3 separate regions of the Homo sapiens genome follow, and all the other regions are linked to region 3. Evidence: promoter capture Hi-C in 16 types of primary human blood cells and fetal thymus (Javierre and others, 2016). All regions are on one chromosome and are shown on one strand. Each heading gives the region's core, a stretch centred on a gene start or on the middle of the fragment in contact. The rest is flanking DNA. Distances are from core to core; before and after follow the strand shown. Region 1 holds the start of CREB1 (cAMP responsive element binding protein 1). Region 2 holds the start of INO80D (INO80 complex subunit D). Region 3 holds the start of NABP1 (nucleic acid binding protein 1).

Region 1 (4,029 bases), core at 393-2,892, about 16 Mb before region 3:
AAGTATCTTCTACTAAACCTTCAGAAGTTAGACGCCAGCTGAGGTTAGAATTATAACTTGAGATGGTATTACAAACTTAAATAGGTCATACCGCACGTCCTTCAAAAACTGTCTTTTAATTTTTAATGTGTCAATGACTTTTCTGCTGTCCTCTTTTCCCAACAGGCGAAGAAAAAATACAGCTTGTGGCTTAAATTGTCAATCTCAAGACGGGGGTTACCTACTGCATGAGACAAATAATGGATACTTTAATGTCTATTTTTAGTAGTAGTATTAAATCAATCTCTCATTAAAGTTCACACAGAAATTCGTGGGAAATATGGTAGGGGGAGTGGGACGGAGGGTGAGGGGAGATCCAGATGACCCAAACGCGGTTGGCAAGGTTGCACCCCGCGAAATGATGTAAAACAAGAGTACATCGGCTGATACTCGTTCCAACGAAGTGTTTCAGAATGATAGATCTCAAGTGATGATTACCTTATTAAAAAGGGTTAAAACCGAAACTGTTTTCAAACACCAGCTTCCCTTTTATAAGATCCCAACAGTTTAAAAAGTTATTATAAATGTTTTTCTTAGCACCCTTTCTCCCAAAAAGCATGCATTTCCATGACTGACTTTAAAAAAAAAAAAAAAGCAAAGGGGTGAGGGAGTCAAAAATTCCCCCCAAAAGCACAAGCTCTCATCTCTCAACTAAGCAACACAGGGCAGAAAGCAGCATTTCCTCAACGGTGTAGGAGCGGGGGGGAAAGGGCACGAATAAAATACAGCACGAGAGGAAACCTTGGGTTTCGAACTTTATTGCACAAAGAGTGGAGAGAAGAGTAGGTCAGACGTTGCAGCTCTTCCCCTTGCGAAGCGGGCATGGCAGGCACCGAAGCCACCGGGAAGGCAGCAGGCACCTTCACCTCCTCTGCCCTCAACTGTCGCCTTCTTCCTCCTCCATCCCCCACCGGCACCTAGGCGGCGGCTGCCCCGGAGGCCCGGCCGGGTCGGGCCGGGGGCGAGGCGGGCGGCGGGGGCCGGACGAGCGAGCGGCGCGGGGGGCAGCGCCGGGCCGAGCGGGCGGCCTCCCCCGGGGCGGCTCCGGGTTCCCGGCTCCGCGCCCGGCCCGGCGGCGGCGGCGGGAACGCGGGCGCCAGCTCGCCGCGGCCGGCCGCCCGCACACACCCCCGGCCGCCGGCTCCCACCCCGCCCGCCGCCCGCCGCCCGCCGCCCCCCGCCATGAGCGCCGCCGCTGGCTGCAGGCAGAGTCGCTGCCGCCCCGGCCGCCGCTGGCTCCAGTCCGCCGCCATTATTCTTTGTTCGCTGCGAGCGGCGGCGATGTTGTGGGGCTCGGGCGGAGGCTCCATCTTTACCGCGGCCCCTCCTGCGAGGGGAAGGCCCCAAGCGCGGGTGTCCGGCGCCTCCCCGTCCCCCCTCCGTCCCCCCGGCTCTCTCTGGCTCCTGCCTCCTCCTCCTGCTCCTCTTACCGGTGGTACAAGCTCCTCCGTCACTGCTTTCGTTCACGGCCCGGATCTCGCTGGAGTTTTATTCTCTCCCCCACGTAACACACCGCGTCAAACTACACCTCCGCCGCGTCACTCACCAACACTCCGCTTCTCCCAGCCGCCCGGGCCACAGGCAGCAGCAGCCGCCGCCGACTGAGGAGCCGCAGCCAGGGAGCCAGCCAGCGCCGCCCAGTGCCGAGTGCGCAGCGGCCGCGCACGGAAACAGCCGAGCTAGGCCCGGAGCAGCTCGAGCGGCCCCGCCCCCGCGCTGGGGACGGAACTTGCCGAAGACCTTCGGGTTTCTTCGGGCGACGAGAAGGGGTTCCGCGGGGAGAGGGAAGGCGAAGGCGGGCTGAGCCCGGCGCCGGGAGGAGTGGTCTAAACTCCACCGCGGCTTTCGCATCGGTAAAGCCGGCAGCGGAAATTTGAAGGAGGAAGCGGGGTTTGTGTGTGGCCCAGTGGGGGAATTCCCGAGGGGTGTCGGCGACTTGGTGGAAACCCCCGCTCAGGCCTGCCCCTGCGGCGGTGAGCGGCGGGCTAGAAGGCGGCTGCGGCTGCCCTGGCTCTGCTCTTGACCGCCGCCAGCCCCGGGAACTTTCCGACGCCGCCGGGAGACGGGGGACGGGCAGCCCGGGCTGGGACGCGGCCGGACCGCTGGAGCCGTGCGGGCTGGGGAAGAAGGTCTGCTGCGCCTCTGCCAACGTCCCGGGGCCTGGGACCCGGGGGCGTCGTGGGACCCCCGTGGGGACGGGTTTTCCTTTCCGAGACTCCGCGGAGAAACCTGGCGGCCGCCAGCGGAGCATGCTTTTCCGGGGGGCGCTGGCCCCGATACTGTGGCACCTTGCGGGGCTCTGCCCGGACCATGGCTGACGTCGACGGCCCTCGGAGGCCTCCAAGCCACACAACCTGCCCGGACCCCTGGAAATATGCCCCATCCTACCTCCCCGCCTTTCTCCAGACAACATCCTGTGTCGCTTTCTTTCCTCAGCCTGTTTTCTACAGCAGGGATTCGCACCCACTGCACCCTAAACCCAGCAGGGGGACTTCCGTGGCTGGAAACTACTGAATTGTTCTTTCAGAGGTCTCTCAGGACGGCACCACTAGGTCCCCATTCTCCTTGATAGTGAACTCTGCAGCCCTCTCCTTGGGGTTTCAAGTCTTTTTTTTTTTTTTTTTTTTTTTAATGAGACGGAGTCTAGCCCTTGTCGCCCAGGCTGGAGTGCAGTGGCACGATCTCGGCTCACTGCAACCTCCGCCTCCCGGTTTCGAGCGATTCTCCTGCCTCAGCCTCCCTAGTAGCTGGGATTACAGGCACCTGCCACCACACCTGGCTAATTTTTGTGTTGTTAGTAGAGACGGGGTTTCACCATGTTGGCCAGGCTGGTATGGAACTCCTGACCTCAGGTAATCCACCCGCCTCGGCCTCCTAAAGTGGTGGGGTTACACGTATGAGCCACCGCGCCCGGCCTCAAGTCTTAATCATTCTTTTTCTGTCCTTTAAAGGAGACGTGTCTTTAGGAAGCAGAGAGGGTTCGATTCTGGACTCCGCCCATGACTCACTTCTCTTGTAAAGAAAGAGTTGTCCTTCCTGGTACTCCAGGTACCCTACTGTTTTCTTATGGACTTTGCCCTTAACGAGTCTCCTTTCCTTCTGTTACTCTCAACCTTTCCTTCTCTACCGGCTCTTTCTTACTGGTATTTAAACATGCTTAAGTCTTTCAATTCTTTAAAAAGATTTCTCTTCTCCCTAAATTGCTCTCCAACAACTGCAGCTGTCTCTTACCCCATGGACAGTCTTTCATGTCCCACCTCCCAGCCCTCTCCAGTGTCCCCACCGCTCACCTGAAGTGGCTCTGAATTGTCCACAGACAAGCTTCATGACTGTAAATGCAGCGGATCATTTTCAGTCCTCATTTTACAAGCCCTCATCCCAGTATTTGACGCGATTGACCACAGTTGCTTCCAAATACCCTCTTCCCTCTGGTCTTATGTCCCAGGTTTCCTCCCTACCTGAGTTTGCTCTTTAACAACCAGCTCCTCCTTGATCTACCTCTTACACATTGGAATCATGCTGAGCTGAACCCTGGCCCTCTTACTGAGTCTCCCCATACACTTTCCTAGGTGGTCTTATGCTCTCCCAGCAGCATCAAATACCCTCTGTCAAAGACTCTTCAATCCATAACTCAAGCCTAGATCTTGCTCTGGAATCCTACATTCATAGTTCCCAGCATACTGCCTTTGGTACACTTTCATTTGGATGACTTAGGGCATTTCAAACTCAACCCGTATATCATAATTCCTTCAAAACGCTCCTCCCATAGTCCCTGGTTCAGTAAAGGGTATCTTAACATCTACCCAGTTCATGCCAGAAACCTAGCACACCTCCAACACACAGCAGAATCACCTACATCTGTCTGCTCCCTGGAAAATTGGATTTGTGACCTCTCTCTGTTCCCATGACCATTTTTTCATTCCCATTCTAGTCTAAACCACTGTTGCCTCTTGCTTGAAGTCCCACAGTAACCCATTCAGGTCCTCCAAA
Region 2 (3,690 bases), core at 1,149-3,648, about 14 Mb before region 3:
TAAGCTGATGCAGCATAGCCCTATCCACTGACAGACAAGTTCCTTTGGTCACAAGGGGCATTGCAAAAAAGGGTGCAGCCAGCTTAATGCAAACAAGCACATTTTATTTTAATTTTTGTTTTTGGAGAAAGGGTCTGGCTGTGTTGCCCAGGCTGGTCTCAAACTCCTGGGCTTAAGCAATACTCTCACCTAGGCCTTCCAAAGTGCTGGGATCACAGACATAAGCCATGGAATCTGATCACATTTTAATTTCTTGAAAAATTCAAAACATATCTATAAAGTCATGTCATATATAAAGAAAAATAAGTTGTTAGAAAACATGTTTTTCAATTTCGCCAGAGGTCTAGTTAAGGGATTTTCCTTGTGATAACTAATGTGTTTGATGTCTAAATGTTTAAAAAAAATATTGTAAATAGAACATAGCTTCACAATTGAGGTTTCCAAGATGATGAGAATCAGTTAATTTTACTTAACTTTTTCCACCAAACAAAGAGGAAGAAAACCACAGAAGAAAATCCAGAATAGGCCGGGCGCGGTGGCTCACACCTGTAATCCCAGCACTTTGGGAGGCCGAGGCGGGCGGATCACGAGGTCAGGAGATCCAGACCATCCTAGCTAACACAGTGAAACCCCGTCTCTACTAAAAATAGAAAAAATTAGCCGGGCGTGGTGGCGGGCGCCTGTAGTCCCAGCTACTCGGGAGGCTGAGGCAGGAGAATGGCGTGAACCCAGGAGGCGGAGCTTGCAGTGAGCTGAGATCGGGCCACTGCACTCCAGCCTGGGCGAAAGAGCAAGACTCCGTCTCAAAAAAAAAAAAAAAAAAAAAAAGAAAATCCAGAATATTTAGGTAAGTACTATATTCAAAGTTATATGATAAAGATAAGGTTCAGCTAGAAACTAATAAATATCCGATATATGCATTACATGAACTCACTTTTAAATCAGGACAATTTCTAAATTTGGAAGTTATTTCTAAATGTTGTGTAATAAATTTTACAAAGAAATTAAATATTCTACTGATTCAGGGCACTAATATAACAAATTCATTCCTGCCAGGTTAGTCAACATGTGTTAGAAAAATAACTTTTAATACAAGATTTAAATCATCATCCCCAGTAGAACATACAAAGATAGTCGGTTCTTTTTCTATTATTTTTCTCTTTCTTCACAAAAATAGAAAAATGTCTCTGCAATTTATCCTCCAATAAGCGTTCTATTGGAATCGATGTAAATGGGTACCCTTTGTCCCTCTCACCTCTGTGCTAACAGCATTGTTTAACTCTGATCCCATTTATCTAGTAAGCTTTGCTCATTTAAAAAAGTAAATTCATGACATCCACTGCAATATACAAAAAGTCTATCATACAGGCTGGCAGCACATTGGAAGTTCTGAACTAACATAACTAACAAAAATAGCCACATTTCTCAATTCTGTGACACAAAAAGCAGATAGCAACATGTGTAATGCACCAAAGATCTAGCTAGAGTTTAAAGAATCTAAATAAATAAAAAAATTAAATGCCCGGATATAATTCTTAATAAGCTATTTTACCTCAAGAAAAATCTAAGGCTGTCTTTAAAATCTCTTTCCAGTTTTACTGTATCCTTTCTGTATGGGCAGCATAACAGAATTTCCAGAAACAGGGGCCGTTTTTAAATCCCCAGTGATAGCTGCCTTTATCTGCACTGTGGAAAATGACACACTGTATCATGCCTTTCTGGACAGTCCATAGGTTTTATTTACATTGCTTTGAGAAACAGACGAAAGACATGTTTTTTTACAATTGTCTTACAGCAATCTGTTCTGAGAGTAACATGTAACACAAATTTTTATATGCAATATATGAAAACATAAATATTTATATATACAATAACATAACCAGACAAATAAATGAAGTTACTATTAAGTCTCTTTAAGTATAAATTTACAAACTGACCACCAGCCACAGAACTTAGCCCTGTAATGGAGAAAAATTATTACTGGCTTAAAAAAATATTAAAATATCACTGTCACTAACATGAAAAAAATTAAAAACAGAAAATAAAAAACAATAACCACCGGAAAACCTGTGTCTTGTAAAGATTTCTTTCCATCAGAAGATGCAGAAACATTTTTCCCCCTGGAGCAAATGAAAACGTTTCTCATGCACCCCCCGTTTCTTCCCTGCTTTCTCCCCCAGGCGCGGGTGTAGACGGCCGGTGTGGACTTTTTTCCAGAGATGAGAAGTAAAAATTTGTACTTTATCGGGAGCGGGTGCACTTTTCCCCCTGGCCCCCCTTTGCTCTGCCTCCAAGATGGTAGGAAAGTTGTCGTTTCGGAGGGCAGAGGAGCAGCTCTCTGGTGTTATGTCCTCGCAGTGCCTGTAGTGGTGCTGTAGGAGGCTGCTGCCTCTTCTTGTACAGCCCCGGCAGCCCTGCCTTCTTGGCTGGAGAGTATATTCAGGGATTTCCCCTTAATAATCACCGACCCTGGGAGCACTTTTTAGTTTCCAAAATAAAAATATGATCCTCACCCCTCTTGCTTGACAGGGAAAGGCTCTCGCCGGAGCCCAGGGGGGAGCAGTAGCAGCGGCAGCCGAGCTTCCTAGTCCATTGCCAGCGCCTCTCACTCTGATCTGTCAGCCCAGCCGAGGGAACAGGGGGGAAGGAGAAAAAAAAAAGCAGCTGAAAGGTAAGCAGAGGCGGCCCCAGGCCCGGCCCACATCCCCGGGCTCCCGTAGGGCGGCGGGCTGGGCCGCGCAGGCTGGGCGGGCGGCGAGCGCGCTTACGTGAGGCCGGGGATTCGCCGGCCCACGCCAGGCCCCGGGCGGAGAATGAAAGGGTGAGTGGGGCCGGCGCCCGGGTGGTGGAGGCCGGGGGCCTGAGGGCCTCCGGGGCGCCCGCGGGCGGCGACGGCGGGCGGGCAGGGGTCCAGCCGGAGCCGGAGTGGGGCGAGCGGAGCGGCCTGCGCGGGCCAGGTGGGGGTGTGCGGCGGGAGGGGGGGGCGCCGGTAGGCCTCGGGCCGGTAGGCCCCACGGCAGCCGCGCCCTGCCCCCGCACCCCGGGCCTCCGCGCGCCCCCTCGAGTCCCCCGGGGTCTCCGGGTGGGACGGCGGCGCTGCTGGGCCGAATCCCGCGCCGGCCCGGAGGCTTTCCCGCGGGGCGGCAGGCCCGGGCTGCCGGGACAGGGGCGTCAGGGCCTAGGAGTGGGGAGTGGGGAATGGGCGCCCGGCTCCCCTTCCCCCGGGTCTCTCGCAGACGGCCCCCAGATTCCGGTAAGAGTTGAATTTATTTATCCCCCTCCTCCGCGCTCCGGACGGCCAGGCCGGGGCGGGGCGGGGCGGGCGGCCTGGCGGGCGTGGGGTCGGGTGGAGGGGCGGTGAGGAGTCAGGTGCAGCCGCGGCCCAGAAAGTTTCCTTTTAGGCCCGAACTGGGGGCCGCTGTCTCTCCGGGGAGCCCTGGTCCTAGCGCCCGGGACCCCCCAGGGCGTGGGGGAGCGCACTCGGCTATTTTGAAACTCTTTGCCAGTTCCTGTCCATTGAAGAAGGTACTCCGCCCCTGCACCCCTCGCCCGCGCCCCACCCAACTCCCCGCGAGCCCATTCGGGGCTGCTAACTCCAGCCCCTTCCCCCTAGAGCCCCCCAGGTTGGGGAGAGGGCCTTCTCTTCCGGTTTGGAAAAGTTTGCAAGGGGCTTTTCTTAGCTTTATTAGT
Region 3 (3,693 bases), core at 49-2,548:
CTGCACTCCAGCTTGGCGACAGAGCGAGACTCGGTCCCAAAAAATAATAATAATTAAAAATCTACTTAACCTGTAAACCGGGGTAGAGGCGCGGATTTCCCAGCTGAAACCGACTGCCTTTCACTGCAAAGGTCTGTTACATCCCAGCGCTGCCCACCACCCAAAGTTAACACCAAAGGAGTTCAAAACTCCTCAAGAGTGGCCCACAGAAAAGGCGGGGGACTTCAGGGCTTGCCAAGATCCCAGGAGCCGGCCAATCCCGATTCTGCAGACTGTTAGGTCCCCCGACTTTTTTGCACACCTACCCTCTGGTCAACCGAATAATATCCCCTGGCTGTATAAGACCTCCGATCTCATCCCACACGGAAATAGTGATGCTGCCCGTTTTATCTGCTACTTTGCACGATCTCACTTCATGGCCGTCTTTGGTTTTGGTCACGCGTCCTGTGAGGATTTAAAAATCAAAGGGAGGGGTTGTTAGATAATGAGGACATCCAGAAAGGCTAACTCCTCCTCCGGTATTTTAATACATCTGGAAGGTGGGAAGTGACCAAGCCCAGGGCTCCCGCCTCAGGTAGGATCCGATCTCGGGCGGAGGCCACTAGAGCCACGTGGGTGGGGGAGGGGAGGGAGGAGGAGGGGAGCCCCGGGCGCGCAGCGGCCGGCGCCCCTGTCTCCCGCCCCGGGAGGCACAGCGGGCGGTGGAGTAGGCTGCAAACCCCACTTACCTATCTCCAGGACAATAAAGACGACATTTAAGTTTTTCAGTCCGGGCTTAATATCTCTTATAAAAATAAGTGGGTCGTTGACCCTATTCATATTGGGACAGGCGCGGCTACGGCTGCGGAGACGCGAGTGGGCAGGGCGGGGTCAAAGCTTCCCACCCTCCCGGGACAGGGGCGAAGGCAGAGGGGCGACCTTGGGCAGGGGTGGCGAGAGAAGGGGCAGAAAGCCGTTAGTCAGGGACCGGGCAAACCAGCCCGGACAGCACTGAGCCTAAAAAAAGAAAAAAAAAAAAAAAAAAAAAAAAGGCTCACAAGTTCTAAAGAAAAAAAGGCGAACCACTCCGCACACCAACCCCGCTCCCAACCGGGCGACAGGAAGGCAAGCGTACTAACTGCCCCGTTCTTTGGATAAAAGGAAAAAAAAACGCAGTGAGGGGACACTTCTGCCCTGAGTCCCGCTCACTCACACGGGCGCGCGCCCAGCCTGTCCCGGGCTCCGGGAAGGAACGGGCTGTGACAGCGAAACGGGAGCGGAGACAGAACACCGCACACCCAGCGTCCCAAACAGCGACTGATGAACACGCCCGCGCGCCGGCAGGACCCTCGGCCCGCCCCTCCCCTTGTGAAGTCACGCTGCGTCGGCACGCCTGCTGCCACGCCCGCCTGGTGCTGGGGAGGGGAAGCAAAGGGGCGGGACCCGGCCGCCGCAGCCCGCAGAGCTTCCCTCGCTCCTCCCCGGGGGCTGTCAGCGCGGGCTCCGCCCCCTCGTCCTTCCAATCGCTCTCGGCCCCGCCTCCCCCGCCCTCCCGTTCTCCACCCACTTCAGCTGTCGCCGCGCAGCAGCAGTTCTGTTCGGTTTCGCCTTCCTGCTGTGCAGTCTTTTGACGCTTGCTGTCCAACTTTGGAGTTTTCTTGCCTTTTTTTCTCTCAGAGTTGAGCCCCTGCCCGGGCCCTTTAGTCCCTCGGTCACGAGGAACGGTAGAGTTTAGAACCTGTGAGTACGTTAGAAAGTTCGCAGTCGAGGAAGAACAGGGTTCGGGCAAGGGCAGCTGGTCCGGTACCAAGGGAAAACAGGCTGGGATGGTGAAGGCGTCAGTGGCTACAAGGCTGGAAGTTTAGCACCAGAAGGGAATTTGGAGATCAATTCAACCGCCTCATTTCAGGCATACTTAAATTGAAACCCAGAAAGATGAGGTAATTTGCAGAAGGTCACCCAGCAACCCCTGAGCAGGCAGGACTGCAACACAAATGTCTGACGTGGGCTTCCACTGTGTAATGCTAAGCAGATAGGACGTAAATTCCTTTGCAGACTTCTCATTTTTCCTTACCCCCTGCCTCTCATATTACACACCTTCCCCATTTAGCTTTTCTTCTTTTACTTTGCACTTGCTTTTGTACATCTAAAAGGAATTAATTATTCAACAGCAGTGGGAACCCTTGAAACATAATCTGGAAAAAAAGATTAATAAAGTTTTTTTTATGTCGCGTAGTGAAAAGAGCATGTGCTTTAGAGACAAACCTGGGCTCCAGCTATTTACTTGTGAGAGCTTTAGGTCAATTGGCTTTTATTACAGCTTTTTAACCATAATAAAATGGGGATCCCTGCCTAGCAGAAGATTGATTAAATGGATCATAAATTGTCCAACTAGTGCCTAGCAAATAGTACATACTCAGTATTTTCCCCTTTTTAATCCCCGTTTTACAGGCGATGGAACTCACCAGAGACCAGATAGCTAGAGAATGGCTGAGCTGGGTTTTAAATCTAGTCAATCTTGACCCCAGAGCTCTCCAGCCTAAAGGTAATGTTTAGACTTAACTTCCAGTGGTGTCATTATAAGAGTCAAAAACAGACTGAAGAAATAAAATAGCAGAATAAAGTAGTGGGGCATTAAAGAATCATCTAGTTAATTCTTGGTGATGATAACAGAAATGTTGGGAAAAGTGTCAGAAGCCTTAATTTTCTCCCCATTCTTTCTGAGTATCTTTAGATCAACCACCACTTCCCAAGTATTTGCAAACAAGCAGCATAGATATTATAGCCCTAGAAAGAGTTGGAAACATTATCACAACATTAGCAAGAGAGTCAAGGCATTTTTAAGGAAACAGAAGCTTCCATTTCATGAACTAATAAAGCCCAAGGTGCCAAAGACACTGATGTCATACTGGAAAGTGGTGTAAAATAAAATTATAAGCATAATTTCAACATCAAATAAAACAAATGATGAAACATGCCAGTTAATGGCAGAGCCAGCGTCCAACCTCAATCCCAATCCAGCTCAGAAGCTCTAATTCTACCATGGTTATCTGGCAGGACTTGACACTTCAATTGGATTGTACTCAAAGCTGTATTTTCTTAAACAGGCAAAATATTCTCACAGAAGCAATATTTAAGGCAGAGCTCTTTTTTTTTTTTTTTAAGGTTTGACAAGATCTTCAAAAGATTAAGAATAGACAGGAAACCAATTAAGAATGTTAAGAGTTACGGCCAAGAGTTTGGGCAAAGAAAGTTTGCCACTCAACTCTCAATCATTTGCCCCCAGAAAAGGGATTAGGTTGGGCTGTTCAGGCTAATTATATGAACATTTTATAAAAAGAAATCAGACACAGAAAATCAAGCCCCACAAAAGCAGAAGCTGGTACTCCAAGCTGTGGCTCAGCCCTTCCCTTCCCCCACAGGACAGAACTCAGCTGAACATCTACTTCCTTCCCTACTAACTCAGCAGTTCTCAGAAAGGAAATGGCAACCATATGCTTTCTCATTAACCAAAACGAAAGGCAGCCTTGAGAAACAAGATGGTCTGGGCAATACAGAAACTGTTCAGCCCAGGCTAGTTGGTTTCAGCTACCTCTAAATCACTCCCAAAGATGTGGTTAATAAAAAGAAAAAGGAGATGTCAAGGAGACAATTATTGCTAGGCAGATATCTTTTCTTATATTACCATTCAGTGAAATAGATCTGCCACTCAGT

What was found. Contacts are between HindIII fragments. The CHiCAGO score rates a contact against its expected background, and 5 or more counts as called.
Region 1: a contact is called between the fragment with the promoter of CREB1 here and the fragment with the promoter of NABP1 in region 3, in 2 of 17 cell types (naive CD8 T cells and total CD4 T cells). The highest score is 7.9, in naive CD8 T cells.
Region 2: a contact is called between the fragment with the promoter of INO80D here and the fragment with the promoter of NABP1 in region 3, in 1 of 17 cell types (total CD8 T cells). The highest score is 8.5, in total CD8 T cells.

The regions. Positions count from the first base shown.
Region 1 is chr2:207,527,575-207,531,603 of GRCh38, reverse strand. It overlaps CREB1 (cAMP responsive element binding protein 1), which reads right to left and starts at 1,642. Exons shown (of 8, transcript NM_004379.5): 1 at 1,470-1,642. LOC124907970 (a long non-coding RNA gene) reads left to right here and starts at 2,007. Exons shown (of 3, transcript XR_007088060.1): 1 at 2,007-2,168; 2 at 2,991-3,087. RefSeq lists silencers at 334-503, 1,214-1,263, 1,294-1,423, 2,094-2,273 and enhancers at 1,514-1,613, 1,874-2,073. The HindIII fragment of the contact is 5,804 bases long and covers 1-3,362 here.
Region 2 is chr2:206,084,882-206,088,571 of GRCh38, reverse strand. INO80D (INO80 complex subunit D) reads left to right here and starts at 2,398. Exons shown (of 11, transcript NM_017759.5): 1 at 2,398-2,671. It overlaps INO80D-AS1 (INO80D antisense RNA 1), which reads right to left. Exons shown (of 2, transcript NR_186084.1): 2 at 1,068-2,615. RefSeq lists enhancers at 2,142-2,251, 2,262-2,311, 1,816-2,635, 2,362-2,651 and silencers at 2,702-2,911, 2,992-3,161, 3,182-3,381, 3,422-3,471, 3,373-3,667. The HindIII fragment of the contact is 4,007 bases long and covers 1,306-3,690 here.
Region 3 is chr2:191,675,741-191,679,433 of GRCh38, reverse strand. It overlaps NABP1 (nucleic acid binding protein 1), which reads right to left and starts at 1,298. Exons shown (of 6, transcript NM_001031716.5): 1 at 729-1,298; 2 at 306-444. The coding sequence starts at 819. RefSeq lists enhancers at 1-127, 955-1,457, 1,667-1,746, 3,340-3,449 and silencers at 597-656, 1,257-1,606, 3,397-3,691. The HindIII fragment of the contact is 1,958 bases long and covers 879-2,836 here.